Regions from separate parts of the Homo sapiens genome. Here regions 2 and 3 are each linked to region 1. The links are contacts of gene promoters, found by promoter capture Hi-C in human tissues and cell types (Jung and others, 2019). All regions are on one chromosome and are shown on one strand. The core of a region is centred on a gene start or on the middle of the fragment in contact, and the rest is flanking DNA. Distances in the headings are between cores, read along the strand shown.

Region 1 (4,216 bases), core at 280-2,779:
TGCATCCTTAATAACTCGGAGAGGAGGACGCAAGATCCTCAAGGGGACCCAGCGCTGGATTGGGAATAGGCAGGTTCACCAGCTTCTCGTGCCACACAAAGGAGATGTGTGGGCAGGAGTTGTCTAGCTGACAGGGAGGGAGGCAAGGTTCTCCCTGACTCCCAGGGAACACGCTCCCCCACTTCTTTCCGTCCTCCAGTCTTTCATGTTCCTTCGTCCCCTCCATCCCCCCAAACCCCACCCTTTCCCTTCAATCCCAATCACATAAAAATCTTCTAATTGTATTTTTTCAAACAGACATCGAGACATTGATACAACACCTTCCAAGATAAAGAGACAAGTGCGTCCTGCCACAAGTGTGTGTGAGTGTGTGTGTGTGTGTGTCACGATCAAACACGCGCTTCATCCCTCAGACACCTCTGGGAAAAAAGCTGACTGGAGATACCCAAGATAATAACGAGGAGCTAAACCTAATTTCAGCGGAACCAATGGTCCCAGCACCAGCGCCCAACATTTACCTTTCCTTTTCGCAGTATGTAACCCTTTAAGGTCTCTTGCCAGCTCAAGCTACTCGGTGCTCCCATGCACCCGCCCAGTTAGCACCCCATTTCCAAATGCTCTGCAACCTACCACATCTTCGCCGCCTCCCTCGGCCACCGCACAAGCAGCTCCCCGCGAGCGCCGAAGCCTCCCGCCCTGCCACCCCCGCCCCCGGCCGGCCTCTGGGGTCCCACACCTCGCGCGCCTACGGTCGCCGCGGCCGGGCCCCCGCAGCACCCTCCGCCACGGAGCGAGCGTGCCTTACTCACATCGCCGGCGGGAGAAACTGCCCATGAGGTTTCGGAGAGCGTAGTCGTGCAGCTGCCAAGGGTTATTCCTTAAGTGTTCAGGGGTCCGCAGTGGAGTGGGCGCCAGGGTCTTCGGAGGAGAAGAGGAGGGAAGGAGTAGAAGGTAGGAAGAACAGGAGATAGAGGGGAATCCAGGAAGGTGCCACGTTAGACCATGATGCCAGTGCCCTTCAGGTGGACGGCTGGAGAGGTTCCCGCGGGAAGCGGCTGAGGGGAAGCCCGAAGCGCCGGCGGGGGAGGCAGGAGCGCGTCCACTCCCCAGCCTCAGCCTGCCCAGCGCGCCGCGCTAGCGACCGCAGCAGCAGCGGCGGCGGCGGCGGCGGTGGCGGAGGCGCAGCTCCCTCCCCGCCCCCAGAAGGCTCCACAGACAATAAATCCTGGGCGGAGAAGAGACAAGCAGGAAAGGCGAATCCTGCACCCAACTCCGTAACAACCCCTGCCCGTTGCCGCGCCTGTGCAGGGCGAGGATCCCCAGGGGCCAGGGCGCAGCGGGCGTCTCGGAGGGGCTGAGCGCTCCGCAACTGCAGGAGGCGGTGGCGGTGGCCCGAGTGGGCGGCTGCAGGTCCCGCCGGCGAGAACCCGCTGCACTGGGGCTGGGTGTCCGTGGCTTCAAGCCCGGTGTTCACCCGGAGTAGGGTCCTCCTCGGTGCAGTGGCTCGGCGCACAGGTGCCAGGATTGGCAGGCGAGGAGGCGCCGCTCATGGCTCTTGGCTGTGTCTCACCGCTCTCCCCGCCCCCTCTCTTTTTTCCCACCCCCTTTTCCGACGACACCAGCTGCAGCTGCTTCAAAGTGTGAAAAATGTCAAGGAGATTTTCCAATGATAGGAGGGGGTAACCATGTTCACAACCCTCGGTCTCTTTTTGAGATCCTCGCCTGTCCCTCTGACCTCTACTCCGGCTCCCCCAAATTATGAGAAGAAAAATCCCAGTCCTGCACAGGATTGAAACGCTAGCCTTCTCCCGGCTCCGTCACGATAGGCTGCTTTTCGAGAACGGGACGAGAGGCCGAGCTCTCTGGGTTCCTCTCGCCTCCGTGGTGTTCGAGGCAGGTGGCACGAATCTCAGCGCGGGGCGGAGCGCGGCTGCCGGCTCCTCCCGCTCGCGGGCCAGCCCCGGGCGCTCGGGCAGCGCGGCGCGGCTTTCTGCAGCGCGGCCGCCTGAGCGGCAGAAGCGGCTCCCGGCCTGTGCGCCTGCCTGAGCGCCCCTGCACCCGCACTAGCTCAGTGACGCTGAGCTCGTGGCTCCTCAGGCTGCTGCTCCTGCTATCTCAGCAAAGAGGCGGCCGGGAGCGCCTCCTCGGGGTTTCCTCCCCCGCCCGCCTTGCCTGCTGCAGGTTGTTGGCTGCCAAGGAGAAAAGTCTCCGCTTGTGCGTCAGGTCGCTTCACATCAGTCATGGCAGCGAACCTTGTGCCTGCTCTTAAGTCCTCTCCTCATTCTGGGGTTGCGGCTGCTGCCCTGGGAGTGCACAAAAAGGGAAGGGTTTTCCCAACTTCCCTTCATATATTCACCGCCCCTCCTCCTGCCATGAACATTCTCTCTGACACACACACACACACACACACACACACACACACACACACACACTCTCTCTCTCTCTCTCATATGCTCCCTTACGTAAAGGCACACACACTTTCTTCTTATACGCTTCTCTAAAGTCCCAGAAGCAGCAAGACATATCAATGAAGCTAGTACTATATTTACACTTTTTTTTTTTTTTTTTGAAACGGAGTTTCGCTCTTGTTGACCAGGCTGGAGTACAATGGCGCGATCTCGGCTCACTGCAACCTCTTCCTCCCCGGTTCAAGCGATCTTCCTGCCTCAGCCTCCCGAGTAGCTGGGATTACAGGCGCGTGCCACCACGCCCGGATGATTTTTTTTGTATTTTTAGTAGAGACGGGGGTTTCACCATGTTGCCCAGGCTGGTCTCGAATTCCTGACCTCAGGTGATCCACCTGTCTCGGCCTCCCAAAATGCTGGGATTATAGACGTGAGCCACCGTTCCCAGCCTATATTTACACTTTTATTCTCTACACACATCTAATGAATTACATCTTTAAAAAAGGATATATTATGCTGGTATTCTTTTGTGGAATATAGGCTATGTGGTTTTTGTTTCTTCATTACAAGAGAGAAAGAATCTTGTCTTTAGTTCTCTAACCTCGAACACAGTCAAGACTGTGCACAGCATTCAAATGCCACTCTGGGGGTGTGTGTAAGCTCACAGTTTGCCAAAAGAAAACACACCTGATTGTATTCTTAGATTTGGAATGCTAAAGTCTTCAAGGTCAAAAATTATGTTTCCTGGCTGCTAGAAATTGTCTAGGAAGAGACTTGAGAGACTGGCACCTAATGTGCGGAGGACCTAGAGAGGAATTATTGCCCACTTTATCTGGGCCATGAAGGTGGGCTGACTTTTAAGGACAACTTGCCAGTGTTTCATATCATTTGCATATAGAAAGGAAAAGGAGTATATTTTGAAAAGCCAGATCGTTTTTTATATTGTTACAAAACACCAAAAGAAAGGGCTCTGAAAATGGCAAGGAAATGGAATAAAATTGTTAAAAGAATTTTTTTTGAATTGACTACTGTTGTGCTCTGTTTTTTTTTCACCTATAGTGTTGTCCTTTTAAACATTTTGCCACATCTCAATGTCTCTGCTGGATGAAGTGACATGAAATATTTTAGGTGCTGATTAAAAATGTATTGACAAAATAACCTGGCGCAACAATTACACAATTATAGCGGTCCTTTATGGGTTTCCAGTTCTTTTTAATACAGTCAACACAGTACTTTCACATATATTCTTTCATTTAATCCTTTCTTAAATCTAGGTGGTGGATAATCTAATCCACACTTACAGGAAGGGCACAAAGGCTCATCTCATAAGGGTGTCCAGTTGCCCTGCACTTGAGCCCAGAATTTCTTATTTTAACTTCAGGCTTCATTGTTTTGTATCAAAATATTTGACAAAAATTATTCTGTTTAAAAACACAGCCAGTTATGAGTAACTGCAGATCCTTGCATACAGGCAGCATACCTACCAATGAAGTTACCTTCTGTGTGTTAAGTGGAAGTAGTTTCCTACGTGGAAACAAACGTATTCCTTTCCAATGGAGAAAAAGATAATTTTGGAACCCCGAATTAAAAATTGATGGTGCTGATATAACACATTTCAAACTACATGTCCTCCTTTCCCATTTATCTTGTCCTAGAATCTTGATTTTGGACCATAAAAATCCAATGGATAAAATACTTTAAATATGTTCAGATGTCCACCTAATTGTTATGGGTTTTAACAAACAGGATTATAAGGTGTAAAGAGAAGGTATTCTCTTTAGAATAAGCTTTGAATACAACGGCTCCATATT
Region 2 (4,617 bases), core at 1,438-3,937, 460 kb after region 1:
AAGCAAAACAAGCCAATCAAAAGGGAAAAACCAAATGTCACCTGCAGGTCTCTTTCCTTATGAAGGGTCCTCCTCTCAACTCAGTTGTTCACAGATGTGATCTGCTTTCTCAGCAGTGTCTTCTCCTAGCATTTTTATGTCTGAATGTGATTTCTTTATTTGCAAGCATTCCCAAAATAGCCTCTTCTCTTCAATGTGTGCATGTACTTGTGGGGGTAGAGAGGGAAAGAGGTGGAGAGAGTGAAAAGTAAATGGAGGCAGATGAGGGAAGGTCGCCCCCATAATTCTTCAGGCACACAAGGGTACACAAGGCACACTAAATCCTGAGATGCCCATGCTTGTCTATCCACTTCTTCTGGCCATCCCTCTATGAGTCACGGCCAGAATCTCCACCCTTTTCTGCAGGCAAGTAGGAGACTGTTTTGGCTAGAATCAAATAGACACAGTCACTGCTGCAAAGTACAACACCTACTGTAAGTTCTTTTGTGCTTGCTATCTCCAGAACAGCTCTTGATATTTTATCAATTTGTTCACAGAGGGAGGAGATGTATCATCAAGAAAACACATGGGATCTTGACAAATGTCTTTCTCGGTTGCGTGTTAGTGCTGAAAGAGGCATCTTTTTAAAGTGTTTGCTTTTCTTTCTTTCCTATTTTTATTTTTATTTATTTTTATTTATTTATTTATTTTTTATTATACTTTACGTTTTAGGGTACATGTGCACAATGTGCAGGTTAGTTACATATGTATACATGTGCCATGCTGGTGCGCTGCACCCACTAACTCGTCATCTAGCATTAGGTATATCTCCCAATGCTATCCCTCCCCCATCCCCCCACCCCACCACAGTCCCCAGAGTGTGATATTCCCCTTCCTGTGTCCATGTGATCTCATTGTTCAATTCCCACCTATGAGTGAGAATATGAGGTGTTTGGTTTTTTGTTCTTGCGATAGTTTACTGAGAATGATGATTTCCAATTTCATCCATATCCCTACAAAGGACACGAACTCATCATTTTTTATGACTGCATAGTATTCCATGGTGTATATGTGCCACATTTTCTTAATCCAGTCTATCATTGTTGGACATTTGGGTTGGTTCCAAGTCTTTGCTATTGTGAATAGTGCCGCAATAAACATACATGTGCATGTGTCTTTATAGCAGCATGATTTATAGTCATTTGGGTATATACCCAGTAATGGGATGGCTGGGTCAAATGGTATTTCTAGTTCTAGATCCCTGAGGAATCGCCACACTGACTTCCACAATGGTTGAACTAGTTTACAGTCCCACCAACAGTGTAAAAGTGTTCCTATTTCTCCACATCCTCTCCAGCACCTGTTGTTTCCTGACTTTTTAGTGATTGCCATTCTAACTGGTGTGAGATGGTATCTCCTCGTGGTTTTGATTTGCATTTGCTTTTCTTTCCTTCCTTTCCTATTTTTAAATATTTAAAGTTGCTCATCTGTACCTTCTCCTGGGCATTTTCCTTCTCATTTCCCTTCTATTTTAAGTAAATGTATTCTTCTAGAGCTTGGTATTACTCATGGAACAGTATTTGCAAAGGTGAATTTCATTTGAGTTAACTATACCCCACTTAGCCCAGGGCCAGTTTGAACATGGGTCAAGGAGTCTGTGGGTGCCTCTCGACAGGAAACAAGGACATATCAAATGACTTACGAAGAGATTTCCTTGAGACAACTTACTCCCCATCACTAATGTCTGTATCAGCTGCTGATTTTAAATTAGATTTCGCTCAAAATGTTCAGCCTAATGGGAGTGGAGAAAGGGATTGGGCAGCCAAGAGTATTTGAATGATTCTGCTACAGCCACCAAACTATGCTAGGTGTTTACCAAGAAACTATCTCAAAAGCTTCCTGGGAGTTCTCCTTAGGCTCTCGCTCTCCTTTCCATTCAACAATTCTTTGCTTAGTCTGTGCTTCCTCCCTGCAATAACTTTTCCTTTCTGTTCTTTCTGAATTCCTATTCATTATTTATGCCCTTCTTTTTTTTTTTTTGAGACAGAGTCTCGCTCTGTCACCCAGGCTGGAGTGCTGTGGTGCGATCTCGGCTCACTGCAAGCCCTGCTTCCCGGGTTCACACAATTCTCCTGCCTCAACCTCCCAAGTACCTGGGACTACAGACGCCCGCCACCACACCCGGATAATATTTTGTATTTTTTTTAGCAGAGACAAGGTTTCACCGTGTTAGCCAGGATGGTCTTGATCTTTATGCCCTTCTTAGTACCATCTCCTCTCTGAAACCTTTCCCTACCTTGCCACACTCCATGGCAGAATGAATTGCTTCTTCCTATGAATTCTCAGAGTTTTGTGCACATAGGTCCATCACAAAAACTTATCACACCATACCATAATGAATGGTTTATATGCCTGTCAATCTCCCTGTAATCATTATTGGGATTTTCAAGGGTATTTATTTACTTATTCTTTTGATACATCACTTAAAACTTGTATAATCTCTGGCACACAAGTGCTAAATACATATTACGTTTGAACTGCCTTTGGAGGCTTTGCTTTATTACTTAGGATGTGGCCACATTGTATCTGAAATAAAAGAGCCTGCAACAAGAAATTCAGTGCTCTGCAACCTGCCTTCTCATACCATCAGTTGAATCTCTGCTGTCGCCATCCATCCCACCACCATTAAAACATTTCCTGGAATTTCCTATCTGATCATCCTTCCAATCCATCACTCCTTTGAGCAAAACACCAACAAATACATTATGTCTAACCATTTTATTTTCTAAATTATAAAATGCACACCATATCACTAAAGAATGCATCAACTTGTATTGGGAAGAAAGGATTTTTTTTTTTTTCCTAATGAGCAACAATCATAGAATAACTATAGTAGGGTCCATATATGGCTTTCTTCAGGAACTCTTGCTGGCAATCAGTTAGGCCTCCGTATGTAGTTATATTTACTAAGGCTTTTGATTTATGCTTTGAAGCAAATATTTAGAACAAATCTTGAAAGTGAATGTTTCTCTTTTTTTTCTTCCTATCCCTGCATGTGAAGTAGCAAGGGTGTGAAATAGTTCAAATGTCTGTCCCACTGACAATGCCTCTGTGACATCACTATTTCAGCCAGAGTTCTTTAGTTTGCAAAGAACAAAGACCCACAAAGCTAGATCAATTAACCTGGAACCTGTGGTATTATAAGGCTGCTCAGTAGGTTCTCATACAGATCCAGGAATAGGAATCGAGTACAGCTGACCCAATGGGGACTGAACTGGGAATTGCACTCCTCCTCTCTGCCCATCTAAATCATTCCATTTCTCTTTACTGATTATCTTCCTATTTACCGATAGTTCATAGAGCTCATATTGCCATCTTCTGTGCCCTAACTCTACTTAAACTTTGTGTGCCATTGTCAACTGACAACTTTTACTGAGTCCCTAAGTAAAAACTCCCAAGACAGAGAGAGACTGAGAGAGAAAGAGAGAATGGTAGGAATGGTTCTGATTGTCCCAGATCACCGTTTTGAGCCACACAAGCACACAAGTCATGTATCTATAGCCTCTCTTTCACTTTGGTTTACGTGTCTACCATTTTCTTAACTCAGCTGGGGCCAAGATGATGGGATCAATGTTAAATAAAACATAGGTATTTAGGGCAATTGATTATGTTTTATAAAGGATGAAACATGCCTAGTAGAAAAAGCAATACAGAATATCTTCCCTCTAACAGTTCTTAAGCCTGTGCTCTATTCCCAGAGCCAAGCTGTCTCTTGGTAGGCCATTAAAAAAAATAAAAGTTTCAATTCAAGGTATTTTACAGAGAAACATATGACTAAAAATTAATTAATTAATTAACAAATGAAATGAGTGAAAAGTTAGAATCTGTCTATGTATAATCACTTCCAATGAAAAATGTTTCTGCCAGGCATGGTGGCTCATAATCCCAGCACTTTGAGAGGCCAAAGCAGGTGGATCACTTGAGGCCAGGAGTTCAAGACCAACCTGACCAACATAGCAAAATCCCATCTCTGCTAAAAATACAATAATTAGTCAGGTGTGTTGGTGGGCACCTGTCATCCCAGCTACTTGGGAGGCTGAGACACGAGAATTGCTTGAACCGGGAGGCAGAGGTTGCAGTGAGCCCAGATTGCACCACTGCACTCCAGCCGGGGCAACAGAGTGAGACTCTTATCTCAAAAAAAAAAAAAAATCTATTTGAGTTTCACTGTGTACCTGTTCAGGGAGTTTTAACACACATTTGTTAGTTTTAGTGGGCACAGAATGACTTCTGGAATCCAAAGGACTAGGTTTCACTTCACTTTTACTATTATTCACTGTAAAGTTTTAGCAGAACTTATTGATCATTTAAAACTTTCCTTATTTATAAAATGGGAATATGAATAATAATTGTTCATTAAAAATTATGTATTAACTATTGTGCTGTGAGATTTACATATGCTACCTTATTTAATATTCATAAATATCATAGGAGCTTAACCCCAGTTTATACAGAGAAGATAATAATAATAATTGCATTTATCTCAAGCATCTATTGAAGGGCTCTTTATGCTTGAGGCAGATACTACTACCTTCATCTAACAGATTAGGTGGCTGAGGAACTAAGAGGGTAATTGTC
Region 3 (4,304 bases), core at 204-2,703, 480 kb after region 1:
GGGCTCAGGGGCTGCTTTGACCAGGCAGGTCATTTATGGAGCTGTGAAAAACCTAGCCCTTCCACCCTAGCCTTTCAATATGCAAATGCACAGCACCATGATGTTCTACACACGTGGGGATATGTGGGGGCAACCATGTTGCCAGGCACATGTGGGGGCAAGGAAGAAGTTGCCAGGAATTGACATGTTTTGGTGGACCCAGTTTCTAAGGGGCCCATTTGCATATCAAAGTTTGCTGACCGAGCTTTAAGAACCAGGGCTTTCCTGCTAGGCAAAAAATGTTTCTGGAGCTGCTTAAAAGAAACAAAAACTTCCCAAGGACCCCTTTTCCTCTTTATTTGCCTAAAATAATTTCTTAATAACTCCTATTACACTGGGAAATCAAAAGTATGTATGACTCACTTTATTGCAGTATTCACTTTATTGCAATGATCTGGAACCAAACCTGCAACGTCTCCAAGGTATGCTTGTAATTTCTAGTAGCTTAATAACATATGCTAATTATAATCTTTAACTCTAGTAACCTTAATTTCTAATGAAAACTAGCAAGCATTGTAAATTGGCTTACATCAGCATTTACCATTTTATAATTTCCAGAAAGATGTTTCCTCAGTTTTTCATGCTTATTACCAGACTCAGATATATGTAGCTCTCTATGACATATAAAAACAGGATGCTAAAATATTTAAACTTAAACTTATGCTTAGTACTTAATGTTTTAGTATTTTACCTTACTGAGGCATATAGCAAGTACATATTACTTAATCTCACATTAAGGTTTTAAGTTACCAAAAAAGATTTTTGAAGATATTCTTAAGTAGACATATGTTATAAAGCATAATTATATTGAAAATTTTACTCATAGACTTTTATCTCACATTCATCTAATTCATTCATCTTTAAGAATTATGCTTGAACTGTGTATGAAAATTTTATAACACAGTAAATAAAGCTAACCACTATCTTATCTTTTTTGTTGACAAATCAGAGAAGTATCAAAAAATCACAGACACAAACTAAAAAGCTAAACATGTTATCTCCTCTATTTTTTTTTTTTTTTTAGAAACTGACATGCATCAAGCAATTAATTCATGTTTTACTGTGCATTCTGCTTTTAGGCTAGATTTCTAGTTTTATAATCTTAAACATCTAACAGAGACAATACAAACCTGTCTGTACCAAAAACCCAGGCAAAAATGTATGTCTGTATTAGATTTAATGATATAAACATACAGACAGAGCAGATTTTACAGTTTCTATTCTATAACTTTTAGCCACATGCCAGGTTCAATAATTTAAAGCTCACTAGCTGGATCTGTCAAATGGGTAAGGTAAGGCTATCTTCTCAAATGACTACAGCTTTTTACCAATTTTTCTGGAGAAGGCTTTTAAGAGTTTTCATTTGACCAGTTTCCAAATAGTTTATTTTTTTCTCTTTTCTATGAAAGTCATCTCCCTGAAGTTTTTATTGCAAAGGGTAACTATCAAGTTCTAGAGAAGAGTGTAGAAAATTTACGAATCAAAGGCACAGAGAAAGCCTACTATCAGAGACCGATCTTATGGAGACTATGAACTAGATTGTAAGCTAGTGCCTGAGGAGACATCTTACAGCTGTTTAAATGTCTTCAAAGACCCACCTGAGTGGACGAGTTATCCATTTCTGTTACAACTGAATTTGTTGCATTTTTCTCGATTTTTGTCTGAAGTTCTCACTAGAGAGTGTTTATAGACACTCTCTAGTGAGAGAGATGGGCTTATCAAGATAGCCACTCTATGGTAGAGCCCCAACTGGGAGGCTCATTAGGCTCAGGTATGTCAATTAAGTGAGACACAGAGGAAGATTCAAAATGAATGCTGAGGTAACATAAAATTATGGGAATTTACTACAGGATTTTACAAGGACATATACAGATGGACCTAGGAGAAGGTTTAGAAGCCTAACTAAAGTCTGGCCACAGAAACCAGAGTCCTTCTAAGAAGGGGTCTTAGAGAAGCCAGTTTAAGAAGATTTTGAGTCCCCTTCCCCATCCCCCTAAAAAACCAATGATATTCTACATTCTCCTCAGCAAAAAAATCTTGCCAGCAAGAAAGAAAACAGAAGGGCTGAGCATATAGTTAGCAGGGATTCAACAAGAGGAGTTTCAGTCAACTAAGTTCCCATGGAAGAAGCAATATCCAATAGTGAGAACACAGAGGCCTTAAAAAAAGTAAAGCCTGAATATCAGCTTTCAATTAATCAGACTTCTGACCACAGAATTCATTGAAGAAAAAAACAAAACAAAAAAACTTTTCAAATATTTTATTTTCAGATTTCAGCCAGAACAAACAGCAACTGCTTGAACTACTTGTGGCTTTTTTTTTTCTGCTTTTAAACTGAGGCCCCAACCAAGTGACTCAGAACCAAAATCAGTCAGTCTTTTATGACTTAACCAAGGATGAAAGAGATGTCCTGAAAAGAGGGTGCAAAAAGATGTAGTCCTCCCAAGATCCAGAATCATCCGCAAAAGACAGTCAAAAGAAAAAAAGACCTTTGTTGCCACAGAACTAAGCAATGAAGGCTGAGACCAAAAAAAAAAAAACAAAAAAAAAAAAAGAAAAACAAAAAAAAAACAGGCCTCTCATGAATTGGAACCTCTAATAAGACAAATTCCCCTGAGAGCTGACACTACATGACAAAAAAAAAAAAACATTTGGACTGGCTGCCTGATGTAAGCTGACACTTGCATCCCCCAGCTGGTAGAGACCAGAGAGAATATTCTCACTGATCATAAAACCAAACCTTCAGGACACAGAACAAGACAAATAGGAAAGAAATGGATGTCCCCGGAAAGGAAAAGATCAATAACAAATATGTACTTCCAAACCAAATTTACACAAAAGACACAATCCAAACAAATGATTTCTTCCTGCTAATCTGAATTTGGGAAGGAAGGGATAAAAACAAATGCTTACCTTCCATTCTTAATTGGGCACTACAGGCAGAGATCCAGGAGAGGTGACCTTGGTTTAAAAAAAAAAATGTGTGTTGTTGTTGTTGTTGTTGTTGATTTTTTGTTAGTTGTCCCAAGATCTGGTGTGAGGTGTTTCAATGACCCCACATTGGGCACCAGAAACTGTAGGGGCAGGAAAGGGGTGTGATAACTTGATATTATAGGAGGAGCAAACGTAGCACTTACTCACCCATTGTAAGTGTTACGTTTGATCCTCCTATAATAAAAGATAGGTTAACAAGAGAAAAGCATGACAAATTTGTTTAATCAAAGTTTTATGTGACACAGGAGCCTTCAGAAATGAAGACCAAAAGACCCAGGGAAAACTACTTTTATGCTTAGGTTTGATGAAGAGTGGACATCCATGTTGAAATGTGATTAGACAAAAAGGGTGATTGAGTGGTAAAAGACAGAGGAAAACCCAGTAAGTCCTGTCTGTTCAGATTCTTCTGGGTTTCTGTAGAATTCCTTCCTCCTAGATATGGGCCAGGACCCCTCTGATATGAGGTTCTTTAAGGGAGAAGAGAAAAGAGTGACCTTTCTAAGTTTAATGGCTTGCTTTGGGGAAAGGGTTCTAGTTTCTATGACCCACTCTAGGCAAGAGGAATTCTACGACTCACTTCAGGAGAGAAAGAGAGCAGGAGAAGGTCAGAGAGAGATTTTGCTTTTGAGGCTTTCCCATCTCCTTTAGTTCAAAGTACTCAGCATGCCAAAGTGCCATACTTTGTGTTATCATTTTCTGAGCCCCAATGCTTGGGTCACATATGGTAGCTTCAGCTCCTGACATTAGATCCACATTCAAGGAAAGAAAAATGAGAAAGGGATGATGCCAGGCAGATATATCCCCTTTTAATAGGAAAGCAAACCCTCCCCCAAAACATTCAGGAGACTTCCATCTACCATGTGTTAAGCACAGCTGCACACAGAACCAAGCAATGAAGGACACAGAACCAAGCCATGAAGTTGTGTGGCTACTGTTGGCTCAAGGGAAACTGAAATATGAGCGTCTATCTGGGCACATTGCTCCCCAATCTGGAGTTTTGTCAGCAAAGAAGGAGTGAATGAATATTAAGTAAGCAATCAACAATATCTGCCACAGTATTATTTACTGAATCTTCCATGTGCCAAGCTCTACACTGAGATCTTTATATAAATTATTTCATTTACTCCTCACATTTAATACAATAAGGCTTTTTAAAATTAGTATTTTTTTTAAAACAGATAAGGAGATAGTGGCACAAAAAAATGTAGACAACACAATTCAGCTACAAGGTGGTGAAAGTGCATTTCAAAACCAGATATTTTAAACCTAGA

What was found. The method cuts DNA at HindIII sites, captures the fragments that hold promoters and counts their contacts. A contact is called where the count stands out against the background at its distance.
Region 2: a fragment that was not itself captured here is called in contact with the fragment with the promoter of LRRC7 in region 1 in 3 of the 25 tissues and cell types used here (dorsolateral prefrontal cortex, hippocampus and mesendoderm cells).
Region 3: a contact is called between a fragment that was not itself captured here and the fragment with the promoter of LRRC7 in region 1, in 1 of the 25 tissues and cell types used here (dorsolateral prefrontal cortex).

The regions. Positions count from the first base shown.
Region 1 is chr1:69,565,235-69,569,450 of GRCh38, reverse strand. It overlaps LRRC7 (leucine rich repeat containing 7), which reads right to left and starts at 1,529. Exons shown (of 27, transcript NM_001370785.2): 1 at 810-1,529. The coding sequence starts at 811. It overlaps LOC105378789 (a long non-coding RNA gene), which reads right to left. Exons shown (of 12, transcript XR_947488.3): 12 at 3,601-4,216. RefSeq lists a silencer at 1,876-2,105. The HindIII fragment of the contact is 6,759 bases long and covers 1-4,216 here.
Region 2 is chr1:69,105,269-69,109,885 of GRCh38, reverse strand. All of the region lies in intron 3 of LINC01707 (long intergenic non-protein coding RNA 1707), which reads right to left. Among named protein-coding and RNA genes, the nearest start is that of LINC01707, 52 kb to the right of the region's middle. The HindIII fragment of the contact is 6,069 bases long and covers 1-4,617 here.
Region 3 is chr1:69,087,211-69,091,514 of GRCh38, reverse strand. LINC01707 (long intergenic non-protein coding RNA 1707) reads right to left here. Exons shown (of 5, transcript NR_146608.1): 3 at 2,953-3,000. Among named protein-coding and RNA genes, the nearest start is that of LINC01707, 33 kb to the right of the region's middle. The HindIII fragment of the contact is 5,298 bases long and covers 1-4,102 here.